Linked DNA regions of Homo sapiens: all the other regions are linked to region 1. Evidence: promoter capture Hi-C in 16 types of primary human blood cells and fetal thymus (Javierre and others, 2016). All regions are on one chromosome and are shown on one strand. The core of a region is centred on a gene start or on the middle of the fragment in contact, and the rest is flanking DNA. Distances in the headings are between cores, read along the strand shown.

Region 1 (2,839 bases), core at 159-2,658:
GAATGGCCTGAAGGTGACTGGTAACCAAAAGGGGATGAAAAGAGTTGCACCATTGAAACAGATGAGGCTGAAGGAGGTGGGGGAAAGTTAAGTATAAAATTAGGACTAGAGGGACACAGCCAGGCAATAACTTCCCTGGAAAGTCTAGACCACTCCCTTAAACTCTTTTCCACAGAAGTGAGCTCGAAACCCAATGATGCTTGAGATACTTGTACTTCCATCCTACTTTTAAAGTAATTAGTGCCGCTAGCCAATAAGGATAGCCTTTACATAGGCAAAATCTCCCAATACGGAGGATGTTTCCAGAAATTCGATTTTCCACATAGGGAGGAAGAACTGCAACGGCTTCAGAGCTCCTTTCTTCTCATGAGGGCAGATCACATTCTAAATAATTCCCATGGCCACGTGATGACACCAAAAGAATAAGCTTTCCACACCGGGACCTAAGGCTGAGCCACTCAAACCTCTTTACATGATCCCTCACCACCAGCCCTAACCTCAATCCTGAACGTTTGGAAGAAAATCCAAACTCACAACATTCTTTTATAGCTCTAAGTGAACCAGCAGCTTCTTGAACAAGAATGCTAACTTCCCCGATTGCTCTGGGGCCTACAAGGCAATCCATCACTACTGGACATTTGCAGACAGGTACTCTCTCAACCTGCAGGAACCCCGCGTTTATTCTCAGTTGTTTGGTTTAGACTAGCCCAAAACCGCTTACACCCAACCAGTTTAAGAGCTCATTCTAGCGAGCCCTTCCCGTGCCCTAATCAGTGGCCCTTGCGCACTTACGTATCCGTCTCTCGACCTCCAAGCACCCGAGGTATCCCTTTCTCCCCCCTTAGGAGCATCCCCAAACCAAGGACAGAACAGGCCCCATGCACGCCAGCGCGCACCCCCTCAAGTCTCCGGGGGAGCCTGAGCGAAGAGCACCTCTCCCGAGCGGCCACGGAGAGCCCTGCAGGCACCGACCCCCACCCTTCCCACAGCCGCCCCGGGTACGCAGAAGCCGCTTCTGCAAGGCCCCGGGGGAGGCTGACCTGCGGAAAACGCACCGACCGCGGCCCTCGGGAGCCCCGCCCCGCCCCGGGGATGCCAAGCCGCCCCTCCACCTCGCAGCGGCGCCGGCCGCCCAGACCTGCCCACCCTCGCCGGGTCAGCCGCCTCCCTCCGCCGCGCCGACCGAGGCCGCCGCAGCCCGACTTCACCTCCCCAGGCAGCCGAGGCCGCCGCTGCCGCAGCCCGGGCCCGCCTTCCAAAGCCTGGGGGAGGCAGGAGCGCTGCGGAGGTGGACCGGCGCCACCCCGCACTCGCGTCTCCTCCTCCTGTCTCCTCCCTCTCCCCTCCCGGTCCTCGCCCGCGGCCTCTGCGGCGCCAGAGACCCAGCCGACTCAGCCGCTCGCGCCCAGGCCCGCCCACCGCGCCGCGCGTGGCTTTTGTAGGCCGCGCCCCGCCCCGGCCCGCTCCGCCCTCGGCCGCCCCGCCACCGCCTCCTTCCGGTGCTCCTTCCCGGCTGCAGCTGGCCGCCAGCGCTTGTCGGGTGTTAGTTCCGGGCCCAGCTTGGGCTGGTGGTAGGTCGGGAGAGGGCGCGGTCTCCCAGCCTTTGCGCAGATTGCGGGGCACCAGGTGGGGCCGAGGCGACGCCGAACGCCGGCAGGCCGGAAACCGCGCAGCCCCGCTGGACCTCGCTGATTGCCGGCGGCACCGGTGGTTTCGCGACCTTGAACAGGTGACTCCAATAGCTCCAGGAGGGCAGCGAGCCCTTCGCGGAACTACCAGATAAGCCATGCTTGAGGCTGTCGTAGCCTAGTGGGTAGTCGTGAAATGCAGATGCGCCTTTGCCCCTCAGATAGCATCTTTCATAGTAGGATGGGGAAAAAACACCGTTTCCTTACCGGGGAATCAGCCTGTAAGAGCAGAATGCCCCAAATCAGCATCGCCATAAAAACGGAGTAGGTGACTTCGCAACCTGCAATAATAGGATTGAGTTTATTCAAGCCGTATTATTTGTTCATGTGACACACATTAATTGACTGGCACGCAGAGAAAGCTGTAAAAAATCTTTGTAAGGTTACATAAAATTAAGAGAAAAGTCTGGAAATATGTAAAAGTTTATTGAGGAAAGGAAGGTGTTTCTGATACCAAATAAGAAACACACACACACACTCAGCAATACTTTGCCCCAACATGTGTTTACTTATTACACCAAGTGGAGTTTTTTAGGTCCTGATTGTCCCTGACGCTCTGATAAAAAATATTGAGACTAGCAAAAGAACAGAAAATTCAGAAGAAGAATCAAGGAAACAAAGGTCTAGTTTTAAAAGCCTTGGTCAACTTCACACAAATTAATTTTAACATTACTTAATACATTTTTTTGGCATCTATTATCCGTGTTCTTTTCGGTCCCTGGTGACATAATGTACCCTAATGTTGCATTTTAACTTTGAATCTCTGAATCCCATATGTGTTCTTCAGGGTCAGAGAAATACTAGATTTTCCCTTTTTCTCATTGTTTATAAACAGAGAAACGCAGAAGATGCTGAACATGAGGAGAGGAAGGCTATGCCTTCACCTTTGGTAACACAAAAAACAGTGGCCATAAGAAAAAATGTGAAGGACACACTGTTGGATCAATGAGTTGACACAAAGTTACAGCACAGCCTGAGTTGTAGTCCGAGCTAATGATGAACCTAAAAATGGTATTTCAGTCAGATTAATCATGAAATGTTTGCCCCCTGCCGGCGCAGTGGCTCAAGCCTGTGATCCCAGCACTTTGGGAGGCCGAGGCGGGGTGGATCACCTGAGGTCGGGAGTTCGAGGCCAGGCTGGCCAGCGTGGT
Region 2 (2,839 bases), core at 149-2,648, 1.4 Mb before region 1:
TGTACATAAAGGACAGACGAATCCTAATTGACAACATCTAGTCTTTCTGGATGTTAAAGAGGTTGCCAGTGTATGACAAAAGTAGAGTTAGTAAACTAATATATTTTGTACATTTTGTTTTACAAGTCCTAGGAAAGATTGTCTTCTGAAAATTTGATGTATTCTGGGTTGATGGAAATGGGAAGGGTTCTAGGCCAGAATGTTCACATTTGGAAGACTCTTTCAAATTATAACTGTTTTTACATGTTTGCAGTTTATTCAAGACTGCTGTATACATAGTAGACAAATTAACTCCTTACTTGAAACATCTAGTCTATCTAGATGTTTAGAAGTGCCCAATGTATGTTAAATGTAGAGGTAGTAAAATACCACTTTGTAAATATCTTTTTGCTAAAATTCATAGGAAATACTTCTGGAAATTGAATTGTGAAGCCACCTTTGTGAGCAGTATAGTAATGTCTATACTTGTTCAATGGTTTAGAGGAAGTGGGAGGGAAGAAATTGCAAAAGGTAATATACTAGTGTGTTCATACTTGGACGTTTTCAGACACCATTTTTCTATATGTTTTGTGCATTTTGTTTTGCTCTGTATATAGTGTATATAATGGACAAATAGTCCTAATTTTTCAACATCTAGTCTCTAGATGTTAAAGAGGTTGCCAGTGTATGACAATGTAGTAAAATTAGCATATTTTGTACTCTTTGTGTTGAAATTCATACGAAAACTTGTCTTCTGTAAATGACTTTTGCATAGGAATTTGGTCAACCATCTCTAAGCATTACATGTGCCTGTACTTGTCCACTGGATTGAAGGCAGAGAAGGAAGGGAGGGGGGAATGATTCAAGGCCAAAATGGCCACATTTAGAAGATACCTCAGATGATAACCATTGTTATGTGTGTGCAATTTTATTTAACAGTGCTGTGTACGTGGTGGACAAGTTATATGAAATATCTAGTCTTTCTAGATATTTGGAAGTGCTTGATGTATTTAAAAGTGGTAGTAGAATAACACTTTGTAAATAGCTTTTAAAAACTGATGGGAAATGCTGTTTGGAAGTGGAATTGTTGAACCACCTGGGAGGTGGGAGGGAAGAAATTGCAAATGGTGTTTTGACATTGTTTATTAACAAATTTCAGCTTAATCCATTGCCTATATGTTACATGCATTTCATTTAACTTTGCTATACTGTGTATATAATGGACAAATGAGTCCCGATTTTATAATATCTAGTCTCTAGATACTAAAGAGGTTGCCAATGTATGACAGAAGTAGAGTTAGTAAACTAACACATTTTGTACACTTTGTTAAAATTTGTAGAAAAGCTGTCTTGTGAAAAGGACTTTTGGAAGTGAGATAACATCAGCTCTAAGTGACACGTGCCTATATCCACCAGGTTGGTGGTGGAGAGGAGTTGGAAGGAATGAAGGGTTCTAGACCAGAATGTTCCTATTTAGAAGACACTTTCAGATATACCCATTGTTACATGTGTGTAGTTTATTCAACACTACTGTGTATATAGCGGACAAACTTAAGTCCTTATTTGAAACATCTAGTCTTTCTAGATGTTTAGAAGTGCACAAAGTATGTTAAAAGTAGAGGTAGTAAATAACACATTTTGTAGCTATCCTTTTGATATGAAATATTGTCTTGGAAATTGATCAATTCTCTGAGCAGTACACATTTTGATATTTGTGCTGGTTCAGGGGGAAGGAGGAGCACAAAGTGCAAAGGGCTTTCTACCAGTGTCCAGTGTGTTTATGAGGAGGCACATTGACCATTGTCCCTTATGTCTGCATTTTCATTTACTGTGCTGTGTATATAGTGTATATAAGTGGACAAAGGAGTCCTAATTTACATCCAGTCGACGTTAAAAAGGTTGCCAGTATATGACAAAAGTAGAATTAGTAAACTACTACATTGAGTACACTTTGTGTTAAAATTCATAGGAAAGACTTCTTAAAAACAGAAGTGAGATTGTTAAAATCCCCCCTAAGCATTACAGATGGCTTATAGCTGTCCACGGGGTTGGTAGAGGTGGGAAAGGGAAGGGTTCTAGGCCAGAATGTTCCTATTTAGAAGACACTCAAATTACAGTCTGTGTTATGTATGTATACCATTTATTCAATGCTACTGTGTATATAATGAAAAACTTAAGTCCAGTTTGAAACATCTAGTCTTTCTAGGTGTTTAAAAGTGTACAACGGCCTGTTGCAGTGGCTCATACCTGTAATCCCAGCACTTTGGGAGGCCGAGGCAGGCGGATCACGGGGTCAAGAGATCGAGACCATCTTGGCCAACATAGTGAAACCCCATCTCTATTAAAAATACAAAAATTAGCTGGTCGTGGTGGTGTCCACCTGTAGCCCCAGTTACTCGGGAGGCTGAGGCAGGAGAATCGCTTGAACTTGGGAGGTGGAGGTTGCAGTGAGCCGAGATCGCACCACTGCACTCCAGCCTGGCGACAGAGCGAGACTCCGTTTCAAAAAAAAAAAGTGCACAATGTAGGTTAAAAGTAGAGGGCTTAAGTAACACCCCTCTAAGCATTTGTTTTCAGTACTTCCTAGGAGTGGTTGCATTTGGGAATGGAATTGTTAAAAGGTGATGCTTAGGAGCGAATGCAGACTATTCATTAGGTGGTTGGGGCGGGGGAAGCGGGGGTGGGCAGAGGAGGTATGCAGGGAGAAGGGTTCTGTGCTCCTGAGATTAGTTCAGATGGTCTAAACATTGTTCTATATGTGCATTTTAGTTAATATTGTGTATTAAAGGATAAGTCTTAATGCTCAAAGTATGTTAAAAATAGATGTAGTAAATCAGTCCCTTTGTGAATGTCCTTTTGT
Region 3 (2,839 bases), core at 155-2,654, 1.3 Mb before region 1:
TTATAATTTAGAACTATGTCAAGAATCTTTAAAATATTTTTACCCTAAATCTAGCAATTCTACTTCTGGGAAGTTTATTTTAAGGCAATCCTAGACCTGGAAAAAAAAAATATATATACAAGGATAGTCAATCCAGCATTATTAAAATTTTTTTAAAAAGGAAACAATCCATTTTCATATGAATTGTGGAAAGGCTACCATGTATCCATTAAAATTAATTATATTTTAAAAGTCTTTAATATTATGAAGCAATGCTGACAATCATAAATGAAAATATACAATAAAATAAAACTTACAATAGGTATATTATTACAACTACTTAAATACAAACGACTAGTACAGGAAATACATGAAAGAAGTATGCCCAAATATTCACATAAAGGTAATGATGCTGGAAATTACAGGTGGGAAGTGTCTTGTCTTTAATGGGAAAAAAGTCATCTCTCACTCTTCCCAGTGGAAAGAAATGAATAGGTACAGTTATAGATAAGTTACTAAATTCTTAGAGGGAAGAGAAACAAAATCTTATGTTACTGTTGGTATCAGGTGGTGTTAAGTAGGAAGCACAGTCCTCGGAGAACAGGAAAAAGGATCAAGATAAGAAAGTAAGGAAAGAAGGGCTGAAAAGAAGGGGGAACGTTTGTAATGACGACTGTGGATATTAGAAGACAGAATCATGCAGGCATACACCCAAGGATTGCTAAATGGTATTGAAATTGGAAACCACAAGATTTTAAGGGCACTAAATATCACCACTGGTCTTTGTCTAAAAGAATGCTTCTTAACCTTGGCTGCACATTAAAATTTCCACGAGAAATTTATAAAATACCACTGCTAGGTTCAGGAAGGACCAGGATATAAGGTCAACACAAAGAAGTCAATCACATTTCATGTTGAACCCTAACAAAATACCATTTACAACCACAATGAAGACAATGCAATACTTAGGTATACACTTAGCAAAACAGGTACAAGATCTGTATGCTGAAAATTGCAAAATTCTGGAGATGGAAATCAAAGAAGATCTAAATAAGTGGAGAGACATATTGTTCATGGATTGGAAGACTCATATAGTAAATATGTGAATTCTCCCCAAACTGAGCTATAGCTTTAATGCAATTTCTATCAAAATCACAGCAAGGGCTGTTGTAGACATAGCAAGCTTATTTTAAAATTTATACGAGAAAGCACAGACCTTAGCATATCTAAAACAATCTTCACCAAGAATAAATTGGAAGAAATCACTTTTCCATATAAAGCCTACTATGTAGGTACAATAATATGTAGTAGTATGTGAAAGGATAGAAACATAGCTCAACAAAAAAAAAGATCCCAGAAATAAACCTACACAAATATGCTCACTTTATTTATGGCAAAGGCACAAAAGCAATTCAACAGATGGTGTTAGAGCAACTGGCTATCCCTTAGACCACAAAAAAAGCAAAAAAAAAAGGAAAAAGGAAAGGATAGAGAGAAAAAGAGAGAAAGGAACTTCAACCTAAACCTTACACATTATACAAAAATTAACTGGAAAGGATCATGAAATTAAATGTAAAAGTGTAAGGCTAAGGCTATAGAACTTTTAGGAAGAGCAAAGGAAAAAATCTAGGGATGGACAAAGAATACTTAGACTTGACACCAAAAGGAGAAGCTTTTTTTTTTGAACGGAGCAATTGGACTTCATCTAAATTAAAAGTTTTGCCTTGTGAAAGACTCTGTTAAGAGGATGAAGAGACAAGCTAAGACTGGGAGGAACATCTGCAAACCATGTATTTGACAAAGGATTAGTGGCTAGAATATATAAAGAATCCTCAAACTCCGCACAGTAAGAAAACAATTCAATTGGAAAATAGGCTAAAGATATGAAGGGGCTTGTCACTGAAGAGGTTAAAAAATATTAAGTAAGTAAATGAAACATTGTTAGATACCATTAGCCATTAGGCAAATACAATAAGATATCACTACCACTACACACCTATCAGAATGGCTAACATTTTTTTAAAAAAGAATGACAATGGCAAATGCTAGTGAGGATGCAGAAAAACTAGGTCACTCACACATTGCTGGTGGGAATATAAAATGGTAAAACTACCATGGAAAAACAGCTTAGTTTATTACAAAACTAAACATGCAATTTCCATATAACCCAGAAATTACACTCTTGGACATTTATCCCACCAAAATGAAAACACATGTCCACACAAAAACTTGTACACAAATTTCCACAGGAGCTGTATTTGTAATAGCCCAGAGCTGGAAACAACCTAGATATGCTTTGACAGAAGAACCATTAAACAAACTGTGGTACATTCATACCATGGAATGCTATTCATGTATTAAAAGGAATGAACTATCAAAAGGAAAGAACTATTGAACAAGCACAGTACAACTTGGATAAATCTCCAGGGGACTGTGCTGAGTGGAAAAAGTCAATCCCAAAAGGTTACATACTATGCAGCTCCATTGATTAAATACTCTTGAAATAACAAAATTCTAGAAATAGAGAATAGATTAGTGGTTGCCAGGGATCTGGGAAAGGGTGAAGTGGGTTTTGCTATAAAAGAGCAACACTTTGAGAGGCCAAGGCGGGTGGATCACCTGAGGTCAGGAGTTCGAGACCAACCTGACAAACCTGACCAATATGGTGAAACCCCATCTCTACTAAAAATACAAAAACTTAGCCAGGCATGGTGGCATGCACCTGTAGTCTCAGCTACTCGGGAGGCTGAGACAGGAGAATTGCTTGAACCCTGGAGGTAGAGGTTGCAGTGAGCCAAGATTGTGCCACTGCACTCCAGCCTGGGTGACAGAAACACTCCGTCTCAAAAAAAAAAAAAAA
Region 4 (2,839 bases), core at 200-2,699, 1.3 Mb before region 1:
TGTCTGGGGAGGGACCCGGTAGGAGGTAATTGAATCATGGGGGTGGGCTTTTCCCATGTTGTTCTCGTGATTATGAATAAGTCTCACAAGATCTGATGGTTTTATAAAAGGCAGTTCCCCAGCACACGCTCTCTTGCCTGCTGCCACATAAGACGTGCCTTTACTCCTCTTTCACCTTCCGCCATGATTATGAGGCCTCTCAAGCTGTGTGGAACTGTGAGTCCATTAACCCTCTTTTTCTTTATAAATTACCCAGTCTCAGGTATTTCTTCATAGCAGTATGAAAATGGACTAATACAGTAACTTAATATACTATATATTTTTATATGATTATTGACGATCTCCATTACTAGACTGTAAGTGCTACTATGGCAGGGACTGTCTTGTTCATTGCTCAATCTTCATTTCTTTGAATAGTGCCTGGCATATTCCTACAACAATTTGTTGGTGGTCTGAATAATTCTCGGTTTAAATGTGAGATTTTTTTCTATTTTATGTTAGTCCCTTATGATATACTTACATAACTTAAATTTGATGCAAATTTCTTCTGTTTTCTTTTTCCAACACTTCTTACATTATCATACTAAAATTAAGTAAAATGTTTTTAATGGAAATGCCTCCCAAACTGTATTTCAATTAACATGTCCAAAAAAAAAAGAAACAAAAGGTAAAATGGGCAGTAAAGCAAAGCCTGCTGGCTGATTAAAAAAAAATGAGTGTGAATGGATTAATCTTAAGTACTGAGGGAATTCTAATAAATATTCAGAATTAAATATAATGGCAAATGTTTCTCTATGATATCCGATTTCTATAATTTGCAATAGTTACCCGTTTTCATAATGCTATTAGTGCCTTTGCTCAAACCACAGGATGACGGACAAAGCGTATCTTTCAAAAATCTGGTTACAACTAACACATATGAACTAATCAAACAAGTAAAGAAAAAAAGGACAAATTATTCTTGATATTAGTACATTCAGGAAGTGAATTCCAAAAGAGAAAAGCTACTTGAAACTTCTTTGCTAGGGATAAAAATTTCTGACTGTATTGTCGCAATATTCCAAGTATCCAGAAAAATAAAGAGTATGCTTAGGTGTTAAAAAAAATCTGCTCAATCTTGTACTTCATACAGGTTTAGCATGAGGCCTCCACAGATTACAGAAGTCAGAATTTTAAATATTATATTTTTGTCCTTTCCTAAAGCTGACAAATGAAACAAAGAATTACAATCTATTAATTTACTTATTCGATAACAAAATTTTCCCAATAAAGCACAATAAATTGAACAAAAACATACATATGGAACAAAAGAAGCACAAGAAATTGAACAAAAACAACAAATAGGGAAAAAATGGACTTACCAGAAATACAAAAAGAGTCTCTCAGAGAAAACTCTTCATGGCCAAAATGACATTATATGTGAAAATCGTAAGAGATTTTCATAAAAGTGAATCTCTTTCACATAATTTACCTTGTCCCCAACAACAAAAAAAAACCTTACTATTCATCAAGACAAAGATTATTGAGCAAAGTAAAAAATTCTTATGTTTGAAATTATAAATTTCTGCTATATCAATATAAAAATGGGAAAAATAACTGAATAAAAGCCAATTAGAATAGAGAGCTGGATGTTCCCTATTCCTGAGTCTAAGCAGTTTTAAGACAGTAGTTCTAAATCAACTAGGACATAATGCCCAGTTCTTATGATGTCGGAATAACTTAGGTACATCTTTTAAAAACTATATGTTGTAAGAAAAGGTGACATGGTCTAAGACTGGGTCCTCAGGGAACTAAAAAGTTATTGCTGTCACCAAACTGAAATATAATATTTTTAGCAAGTATATTTGAGCTTTAGCTACATATAACCTTCATTTATCCACAGTGGCCAAATTTATAACAGGCAAGTTGCAGTAATTGCCACACAAGTCAAACCCATTAGTTGGTCAAAATGAAACATTTTAGACAGTATTTCTTAGAACAGCCAGACCCGTGGCGTGAGCCTGTAGTCCCAGCTACTGGGGAGGCTGAGGAACAGGATTGCTTGAGCCCAGGAGTTCAAGGCTGAATACACTACGATCATATCTATGAATAGTCACTGCACTTGAGCCTAGACAACATAGCGAGAACCTGTCTCTTAAAAACCACTTTTTTTTTGAGACGGAGTCTCGCTCTGTCGTCCAGGCTGGAGTGCAGTGGCGCGATCTCGGCTCACCACAAGCTCCTCCTTCTGGGTTCACGCCATTCTCCTGCCTCAGCCTCCCGAGCAGCTGGGACTACAGGCGCCCGCCTAATTTTTTGTATTTTTAGTAGAGACAGGGTTTCACTGTGTTAGCCAGGATGGTCTTGATCTCCTGACCCCGTGATCCGCCCACCTCGGCCTCCCAAAGTGCTGGGATTACAGGCATGAGCTACCGCACCCGGAGGCCCCGTGACTTAAAAAGGGTATTGGTAATAGCAGTTTCCTTCAACCTCCCACTACCCTAAGATTTCTAAAGCACCCCTCAGAAGATGATGTAATCTCATCTGGTTCCCTTTCTTGTGAGGCAGGCTGCTAAATGGTTTGAATACTGTCATGAAGCTCCCTGTAACTGCTCCACTATGAATCCATTTCAGCTTGTAGAACAAGACATATTTTTCCTCCTTCTTTTCCCTATTTATAGCCTTAAAATTAGAAATGTTTATTTATTCACTGGGAAAAATTTAGAGAATTTCAAAAAAAATTACTCATAATCTTATAAAGATGTCCAATTAAACATATTGATCTTTTTAGACCTGTATTTCATTTACTTTTTAAACAAATTTGAATTATATAGTTCATCCTGATTTTCTCACTCAATAT
Region 5 (2,839 bases), core at 125-2,624, 1.3 Mb before region 1:
GTTTGGTTCTCTGTCATTTCTTTGTTAGTCCTCTTTTTTTATCTGTACAGCTACAAGAACCAATCAGATATTTAACATTTTGATTTAATAGTAAACTAAATGATTTTTCAGTCTATAATCTTCCCTCGCCTTGCCCTACCATCTGGGAATGGTGTATAAAACAAAAAAAATCAAATTGTTTTCCTGCTGAAAGCAACTGAAGTAGTTCAGCTTGCAAGATCTTTCAGAGTCTGGCCTCAGCCTGTCTTTCTAATCTTTTTAGTTTTTCTCCCTCTCTATATGAATCCTCTGTGAAAAATCTGACCAGAAATCACATACAGCCATGAATTACCAACAAGTCAAGACTTTTTATAAATGGGAGTAACAATTGAAAGAAACCATTGCTAAGATTCATTAATTCCCTAGTGTAAAAAGTTAGTAGCGGGAGTGGGTGGGTGTTAAATATGGCATGGTCCTAACATTTTGTCTCCGAAAATAATCATAGAATAAAAACAAAGCAACACCTTTCCGTATATAAAACTTTCAAAGTTTTTGGCGTGCATAACCATTTCTGAACATATTTAAAAGAGAAACATTTTCTTTACATTTTAACAATGTTCATTTTCTAATGGTCTGAATAAGGTCATTCAAAAAATACATTAGATGGCACTGTCACCACCATTTATGGACCCTTATCTCAGGTCAGACCCTTCCTGTTATAAATGCCTTACATGGATTAACCTATTTAGGCACTCACTGAATTCATTCATTTAACTCAGTCCATTGAAATCAATAGTTTATAGGATCTTGGACCCAAGTCTGCTCTCTGTCTCAATCCCAAGTCCAGATTTACTTTTAACCTAACTCTATGTATCCCCAGCTTTGACTCTTTGACTCATGTTGCCAGACAAATGGTCCTGGGTCCACTCCTTATTCCTGGAAGATTTTAGCGGTCATTTTCTCCAACACTTTTCCTGTCATAATTCTTTCTGAATTCAATCACTATATACATGATGATTCCAGCACTGAAGTTTCCCAGCTCCTCAATTTTCCTCCAGTGATCTTGTATTCCACCTGACCTCAGCCACTTATCCTTATGGTCAGCCCCTAGACACTTGATCAGTAGCAATAACTCCAAGCCTTCTGTAATCTCGGTTTCAGGAACCATTTTCTCCAACCACAACCTTCCATCTTTTCAGCCTCCCTTAATACTCCTTCCACCTTTTGGGACTCATAATTTATCTATCCTACCTTATTTTTGTCCCAAACAAATCTCTCATCCTTATTTCACTCCTTACCCATCCTAAATTCCAATGATCCATCATTTTAACCACTTTTTCACATACACTCTGAATTCCCTTATACCCTTCACATACTTGGGGATACTCCACTTTGATTAAGTCTACCCTCTACCTACTCTGCATCTACCTCAGTGCATCCAGAGGAAAACATACAACTAAGCTAACTGGGGGCATTTTGCTCTCTCAATTTATGATCATTCATCTCAGGGGGCCTTTATGCTACCCAGCAATCCTACTATATCTTTCTAGTTCACTATGTCATTTTCTCGAGAAATATGTCATCCTTTTTTCTCTTAAAAATCAAACTTTCTTGAACAACCGCTTCTTTTTGTTCATCTGCTAAGAAAAAGAAGCCATCAGAAGAGAAATTCCACAGGCTCCGATCTCCATCTATTCCCAAACACCTCATACCTGCACCGGTGCCTCAAGATCCTGCCTTCCATCAGTTAACTATAGATGATATGTACTTTGCTCCTAAGACCATCGCCTCCTTTTGGGTACTAGATCTCATCTTCTTTCTTCTACTCAAAGTCATCACTCTTGCAATTCTACCTTCTATATCTTACATTTTCTTTAAACTCTTACTAGTTGTTTACTGGGGTTGAATGTATTGGGGAAGATGTGGGCAACAAAAGAAAGACTGACCATTTGGAAACCAAGAGTGATAATAAAATAGAACTTCCATCTTCCTACAAGTCTATTAGAGATTTCAAATCCTCCATTGCTGTTAGTTTTGACTAAAAATCAAAATCCTCTTTTATCAAACAGAGAGTGGCAACTGTGGAAGAATGAAGAGAAATACTAATGCTGGCGCTAGTCTTGGTCATCTCATACCCAGGGTCTTTACCTAGGCAAGATACTTGCATATAGAAGGACTTTTATTCAGATTCAGAGCTTAAAATAATTCTATGTAATTCTCCAATATTCAAGCACTGGTTCACAACCACAAGATTTTTTTAAAAATCTGCAACAGGTCTAGCTTTGGGGTAGGAATGATCTCCAACAATCTTAATAACAACTCTCCCCACTTTCAGCTAAAACTACCAACCAGAAGGAAAACACAGAGGTTATAGTGTTCCATAGAAAATTTAGCAAAGCTAGACAGACAATGCTTCTTGCCAAATTCTGGCTGAAAGTATTAATGGGATAATGTAAACATTTATTACCTGGCCAAGATGCACTGTCTGGTGAAGGTGTGGGTGGTGGCAATTGTTGTTTTAAGGTTTTGCATTTATTATTTGTCTGAAGTGAAGCAGGACCTGTATTTGGGGAGAACATGTTAAAAATAAAGATGAAAGCCTGAGAACAAAATATAGTGGGCACTAAAGCAGCCACTATCAAAAGAAACAAAAAAGAAACAAATCCAGGATTAAAGCAGCCTAAGGAAAAGTCAGTTTAACTCTACACATGGGAGAACTTATTTTGCAGAATCTTGCATTTTAGTGTGTTTAGTAACTAAATGAAATTCTACTCTATGGTTTTCTCTTTCATGCTAATTTATACCACACTCACTGTTCCCAAACCCACTCTAAAGAAAGAGGTTATTGTTTTAATAACAT
Region 6 (2,839 bases), core at 116-2,615, 1.3 Mb before region 1:
TGGTAAAATACCAGTTTCACTCACAATTGCACACAGTGGGCTGCGGTCAGAATCCACACTGGGTTGATGATGGCACCTCCACATTGGTAATCGCCTAGAAACCTCAGACCCACCTGCCATGGCCAACAGTGGGGGCAGGCTTCTTCCCCTCCTGCGATTCTTCTGGAAAGCCACTGGGGACTAAATGGAGGGATGCCACAGACATCTACAGTAAAGATGAAACCAATGACCCATAAGGTTGCAGTAATTTAGAACATACTCCTCCAATAGCTTGCCATAGTTAACAGTAGTGATTCTCAAACATCAGATAGGCTTTATAATAATATTGACTCCCAAAACTCACCTCTGAAAAATCTGATTTTAAGAAGCCTTCCCAGACTATGCTAGGCAACCAGAATTTTAGGGACTGGCCTACAGAATTTTATTTATTCATTTAGCAAATATTTATTTAGTGCTTGCCATTTGCTAGGCACTGTTCCAGACATTGGTGATATATTATTGGTGGAATAGAATAGATGATAAAAATACTGGCCCCCATGGAACTTACATTCTAGTAGGAAAATTTCAAGTTTGTTAGCAGAGTACATAAGGTTCTTCATTATATCTTCTTGTTTTAGTTCTTGTTCTCACTGTATGAATCCATGTATCAATCCTCAAACATATCAAATTTGCTCAGGCATCTAAATGCTGTTCTCTTATCAGGAATTGATGAGACCCATAGCCCAAGCACTAATCTCTAGGAAGCCTTCTCCAACCCTCCAGCAACAGGCAGATATTTTCTTCTCTAATAGCTCCTTGTGCAACTTTCTATTCCAGTCCATCAACTTGAACATATTCAATACATGTATGTGGAACAATGAGGGATCATAGTATTTACCCAGATGCCTTAGAGCATAAGGAAATTAAAAGATGCCAGTGTGAATTTAAAATAAAAAACCTTTGTTTTCTCTCTTTGCCCCACACTGACTATAGAAGTCATTTTAAATATTAAGTTTGTAGAGGAATGAATGAGGACAAAACATTGCTTTATACCCTTTTCTTCCTAACCTAAAGCTCATTTGTTCTTCCCTCTATTTATGAGTCTAACTATAAATCCAAATATGACTCTGGACGTTTTATGGACCTAAATATAAGACTCATTCTTCTTCACTGTGGAGTTATAGCCAATGTAAGATAAGGGCTTCCAAAAGAGACATCTAGTTAATGAAGAAACAAGATTAAACAGATAGTAATAACATGTCACCAACTCACCATGCAGAATAGCTTTTACGGTAGATACAGGATTGTTTTGGGGAGGTAACTTTGGTTCAAATTTGTTTAAAGACTCTGTAGAAGAAAAAAAAATTAATTGAAAGTAATTAGAGAAGTTGCACTAACTGACCCCACTTGCTTACCCTGGTAAATCATAAAACTACTCTACTGTAGATCTCACTAACACTACCATTCATACACTAGATGCCAGATCCCAGAAATGTGATTTCTTGTATATCCGTTAATATCCCTGTTCCATCTGGCTCTTTTAAGCACTTCTTCCTTCCTTGGTTTCTTGATATTAATCTCATGGTTTTCCTTATACATTGATGGCTGTTTTCAATATCAGTCTTTTTTTCAGGATCTCATTGTTTAGCCTGAAAAGATATTGCCAAGGTAATGTTCATTACTCTATTTTTATTCATCTACATGTAGATGACTTCCAAATTTCTCTCTTCAATCTAAATCTCTTTCCTGAATCCTAGACCTAAGACTTTTAGATATCCCCACTTGGATTTCCCACAAGCTAATATCTACATGTCTTAAATTGAACCAAATGATTTTAAGAGTCAATACAGTCTTGTTCTTACATTTCTCTATCATCTAGTGGCTTCTACCACTCACCTCGCCATTCAAGCTAGGATCTTGAAAATCATATTTGTGATGGTTAATACTGAGTGTCAACTTGATTGGATTGAGGGACACAAAGTATTAATCCTGGGTGTGTCTGTGTGGGTGTTGCCAAAAGAATTTAACATTTGAGTTAGTGGGCTGGGGAAGGCAGATCCACCCTTAATCTGGTGGGCACAATCTAATCAGCTTCCAGCTAACATAAAGCAGGCAGAAAAACATGTAAACAGAGATGGGCCTAGCCTCCCAGCCTACATCTTTCTTCCATGCTGGATGCTTCCTGCCCTAGAACACTGGACTCCAAGTTCTTCAGTTTTGGGACTCGGACTGGCTTTCCTTGCTCCTCAGCTTGCAGACAGCCTACTGTGGGACCTTGTGATCATGTAAGTTAATACTTAATAAACACACACACACATACACACACACACACACACACACACACACACATATATATATCTGTCCCTCTAAGAGAACCCTGACTAATACAACACTGGACTTGTCTTCCTTCATATATTCCATCCCTACTATATATATAATAAAACAATACGTATAGAATAAATTCTTTACAATGATTTTCTCAGTACTTTTCTTGCATGTAAGTTCATTCATAATCTTCCAGGTTACTCTGGAGTCAGAGAGGCCAAGTTCTGACTCCACCTCTTGCCAGCTGTGTATCTTTGGGAACGTTACTTAACTTCTCAAAGCCTCACTTCCCTCACTGGTGAGAGGAGAGCAATGCACATAACTCCTATGTATGTAAGGAGGAATAAATGAGATAATGCATGTGAAATGCTTAGTGAATACCTGCTACAGGGCAAGTAATCAAAAGTTAGCTAGCTATCCTATCACTCTGGCACTTATAATTTAATGCCTCATGTTCAACATGATCTCACTCCTGCCTTTTCTATTATTCCCTCCAAAACTCAAAACATGTAGAGTTATTTGTAGTTTTCTTATA
Region 7 (2,839 bases), core at 250-2,749, 1.3 Mb before region 1:
GTCCTCTCTAAATATCTTGTGAAGATTGGTATTCATTGTGAAGTTGTGTCAGTCTTGGGAGATTGTAGTTATTCCCAATATCTCTTACACAACAGTGACTAAAGCTATGTATCTTCAGTCAAACTTTGTGCAAATATATTCTGCACCAAAGGAAAAAAAATCCACAATGCTTAACAATATGTGAAATGAAGAATTCATAGCTAGGCCTAATAAGATTGTGAAAGTGGTCATCTTGCTTGATTCCATTAGGTTGCACACGTTGAAACTAACCCCTTTTGCCAACCCACCGAAATAAAAGAAGTGTAGGGGTAGGAATGGACGTGGAGACAGGAAATAATTCTTTCTGCTCAGGTCAAGTACACTTTTTCAGTAGAAATCAGAGGAAAAGATGAAGGGAAAAAGAATTTTGACACAGTAATAGAAGAAACATGAGCTTCTTTTGGGGAAAGGCAGAATCTACTTTCACCCACATGTTACTGAACAGCTAGGCTGGTTTACACTTTTGTACCTGGCAGGCGTCCATTCCCCAATCAGGGAAGCCAGCACACAGCATGGTCCTTCCCAGGGGAGGGAGGTTCATGCTCTTGAGCACAGTATTACACGCTCTGTCATCCATGATGGGAAGTTCCATTTCTTGTAGGACATTTGAATATTCTGATGCTGTAGAGAGAGGACAGATAAGTTAGCACACAATATCCTCATGGAAACAAATTAATGGGAAGTCTACAAGTTTGGAACTATTTCAAACAGATTTTTAACCACATGTAGAAGTAATTGTTTTTAGGTGTGAATCATATTCACTTCTAAAAATCAGATATGTGGCAGAGGACATTTTTTGAAAATTCAGCAGATTTTTAAGGTAACATAGGCAATTGTACAATTGTGGCTGCTCTAAACAAATGCTTAAATGTTTCCCCAAAAGAGGAAAACTTTGGTCAATATGGCAATGTTTTATAAAAATGATTTTTTTAAGACAAGGTGTCCCTCTGTCACTCAGGCTGGAGTGCAATGGTACAATCAAGGCTCACTGTAGCCTCAACCTCCTGGGAGCAAGTGATTCTCCCACCTCAGTTTCCCAAGTAGCTGGGACTACAGGCATGCCACCGTGATTTGCTAATTTTTTATTTTTTATTTATTTATTTATTTATTTTTGTGGAGACAAGGTCTTCCTATGTTATCCAGGCTGGTCTGGAACTGCTGGGCTCCCATCTTCCTGCCTTGGCCTCCCAAAGTGCTAAGATTACAGGCGTGAGCCACTGCGCCCTGCCTAAAATTATTTATAAAATAAAAAATCACAATGTATTGTTGTCAAGCTTTAGGTATAGTTGACAAATAAAAATTGTATTTATTCAAGGAGTACAAAGTGATGTTTTAATATATGTATACATTGCAAAATGATTACCATAATCATGGTAATTAACATTACATCACCCCACAGAGTTAACTTTTTTGTAGTGAGAATACTTAACATTTACTCTCTTGGCAAATTTCAAGTATTCAATATATTAACTATAGTTCCCATGCAGTATATTGGATTTCCAGAACTTACTTGTCATACAATTCCACATTTACACCCTTTGAACCACATCTTCCCGTTTCTCTCATTCTCAAATTCCAGGTAATCACCCTTCTACTTTTTGTTTCCGAGTCTGACTTTTCAAAAAAGTCACAATATTAAAGACAAAGAAGCTTAACTATTGTTGCTATTTCCTGATCATCCTTTTGCCTTATTCCTCCTCATCTGTCACAGCTCTATCCAGCTTCCTTTATCTGCCATACCAAATTGGCAGCAGCAGGAGTGATATGAATAGCCTTTTTAAAAGTATAAGCCTTTCAATGCTGAGGACTACCAGAAATCTTCGTTGTGTCAGAAATTAGTTATAAAAAATGATAAATGTACTACTCATGGTCAACAAAATTATTTCTGCTTCCCCTGGACATACAGAGAGCTGGAAGAAGTATTAAGTCATTTTGGTGTCTCTTACTTTTGGAAATCTTGCCCCATCCACTGGATAAGCAAAGAATTCCTGGTTCAACTTTATCATCGCTGTCAGGAAGACAGATTGGCTGAACAGCATTTCCTGAGAAAACAACAAAGGCATGAGGTTCATGGATAAATACGCCATGTTGAATATATTTGGAAAAGTGAAATCTCTTGATTTCATGGCTTCTACACTTTCTTCCTAAATGTAATGGTGACATATTTTAAGTTTTGGCCCCTCCATATAAAACCGTTTTGTATTTATAGAAATTTTGAGAAATGCAGAAAAAGTAAAACAAGGATAAACATAAGGCCAATTGTTCCGCACACCACGAGCCCCCTAATGTACTAACATTTTAGACTATGCCTGTGTTTTGAAAGGGTAGTTTTTCACTTGACAGTTATTGAACACAAATCCAGAGGAATTAGCCAGGCCACTGCCTTTGAGAGATTGAATTGATCTTTAAGATCCTAGAAATTTAACTGGCCATGAGAGGAGCTGTAAAGAACCTGGGAAGCTTAGAAAAAATATGGATAATGGTGGGAAGAGACTGTAATTCAAGAGAAAGTGGCTGAGGACTGATCACAATTGATATCCAAATCTTTAGAAAAAAGCCCAGTAACTCCAACTATGATGCAAAAAATAATTTTGTATCTAGACATTGCTGAAAATGTAGCACACTAAAAACAAAGAATGGATCTCAAAAAAATCTAGAAGGAAAAAAACATATTACCAAAAATGGAATGTTCTTGATTTCTCAACAGCAGTAAGCGAATGTTAGAAGACAGTAGAACAAGATGATCAAATTATCACGTGGCAAGCACTCTTTTAGATCTCAACGAATGAACAGAAAGAAA

The links. The method cuts DNA at HindIII sites, captures the fragments that hold promoters and counts their contacts. A CHiCAGO score of 5 or more calls a contact.
Region 2: a contact is called between a fragment that was not itself captured here and the fragment with the promoter of CAPRIN2 in region 1, in 1 of 17 cell types (activated CD4 T cells). The highest score is 5.9, in activated CD4 T cells.
Region 3: a contact is called between a fragment that was not itself captured here and the fragment with the promoter of CAPRIN2 in region 1, in 5 of 17 cell types (total CD4 T cells, naive CD4 T cells, activated CD4 T cells and 2 more). The highest score is 9.4, in total CD4 T cells.
Region 4: a contact is called between a fragment that was not itself captured here and the fragment with the promoter of CAPRIN2 in region 1, in 6 of 17 cell types (monocytes, M2 macrophages, M1 macrophages and 3 more). The highest score is 13.1, in monocytes.
Region 5: a contact is called between a fragment that was not itself captured here and the fragment with the promoter of CAPRIN2 in region 1, in 5 of 17 cell types (M1 macrophages, non-activated CD4 T cells, naive CD8 T cells and 2 more). The highest score is 8.4, in M1 macrophages.
Region 6: a fragment that was not itself captured here is called in contact with the fragment with the promoter of CAPRIN2 in region 1 in 1 of 17 cell types (neutrophils); the score reaches 6.1 in neutrophils.
Region 7: a fragment that was not itself captured here is called in contact with the fragment with the promoter of CAPRIN2 in region 1 in 2 of 17 cell types (total B cells and non-activated CD4 T cells); the score reaches 5.5 in total B cells.

The regions. Positions count from the first base shown.
Region 1 is chr12:30,753,543-30,756,381 of GRCh38, forward strand. It overlaps CAPRIN2 (caprin family member 2), which reads right to left and starts at 1,409. Exons shown (of 19, transcript NM_001385503.1): 1 at 1,209-1,409; 2 at 1-17. LOC645485 (a long non-coding RNA gene) reads left to right here and starts at 1,532. Exons shown (of 2, transcript NR_135046.1): 1 at 1,532-1,729. RefSeq lists enhancers at 783-862, 866-1,035 and silencers at 963-1,642, 2,734-2,839. The HindIII fragment of the contact is 2,894 bases long and covers 426-2,839 here.
Region 2 is chr12:29,390,713-29,393,551 of GRCh38, forward strand. All of the region lies in intron 1 of OVCH1-AS1 (OVCH1 antisense RNA 1), which reads left to right. Among named protein-coding and RNA genes, the nearest start is that of OVCH1-AS1, 2.8 kb to the left of the region's middle. The HindIII fragment of the contact is 3,369 bases long and covers 1-2,839 here.
Region 3 is chr12:29,414,637-29,417,475 of GRCh38, forward strand. The region is part of intron 1 of OVCH1-AS1 (OVCH1 antisense RNA 1); the gene reads left to right. It also overlaps a transcript of OVCH1 not described here. Among named protein-coding and RNA genes, the nearest start is that of OVCH1-AS1, 27 kb to the left of the region's middle. The HindIII fragment of the contact is 489 bases long and covers 1,161-1,649 here.
Region 4 is chr12:29,433,231-29,436,069 of GRCh38, forward strand. All of the region lies in intron 1 of OVCH1-AS1 (OVCH1 antisense RNA 1), which reads left to right. It also overlaps a transcript of OVCH1 not described here. Among named protein-coding and RNA genes, the nearest start is that of OVCH1-AS1, 45 kb to the left of the region's middle. The HindIII fragment of the contact is 3,133 bases long and covers 1-2,839 here.
Region 5 is chr12:29,452,395-29,455,233 of GRCh38, forward strand. It overlaps OVCH1 (ovochymase 1), which reads right to left. Exons shown (of 26, transcript NM_001353179.2): 21 at 2,447-2,539. All of the region lies in intron 1 of OVCH1-AS1 (OVCH1 antisense RNA 1), which reads left to right. Among named protein-coding and RNA genes, the nearest start is that of OVCH1, 44 kb to the right of the region's middle. The HindIII fragment of the contact is 3,720 bases long and covers 1-2,839 here.
Region 6 is chr12:29,471,778-29,474,616 of GRCh38, forward strand. OVCH1 (ovochymase 1) reads right to left here. Exons shown (of 26, transcript NM_001353179.2): 15 at 1,252-1,326; 16 at 25-205. The region is part of intron 1 of OVCH1-AS1 (OVCH1 antisense RNA 1); the gene reads left to right. Among named protein-coding and RNA genes, the nearest start is that of OVCH1, 24 kb to the right of the region's middle. The HindIII fragment of the contact is 6,415 bases long and covers 1-2,839 here.
Region 7 is chr12:29,489,112-29,491,950 of GRCh38, forward strand. It overlaps OVCH1 (ovochymase 1), which reads right to left. Exons shown (of 26, transcript NM_001353179.2): 5 at 1,986-2,081; 6 at 509-660. Among named protein-coding and RNA genes, the nearest start is that of OVCH1, 7.2 kb to the right of the region's middle. The HindIII fragment of the contact is 376 bases long and covers 1,312-1,687 here.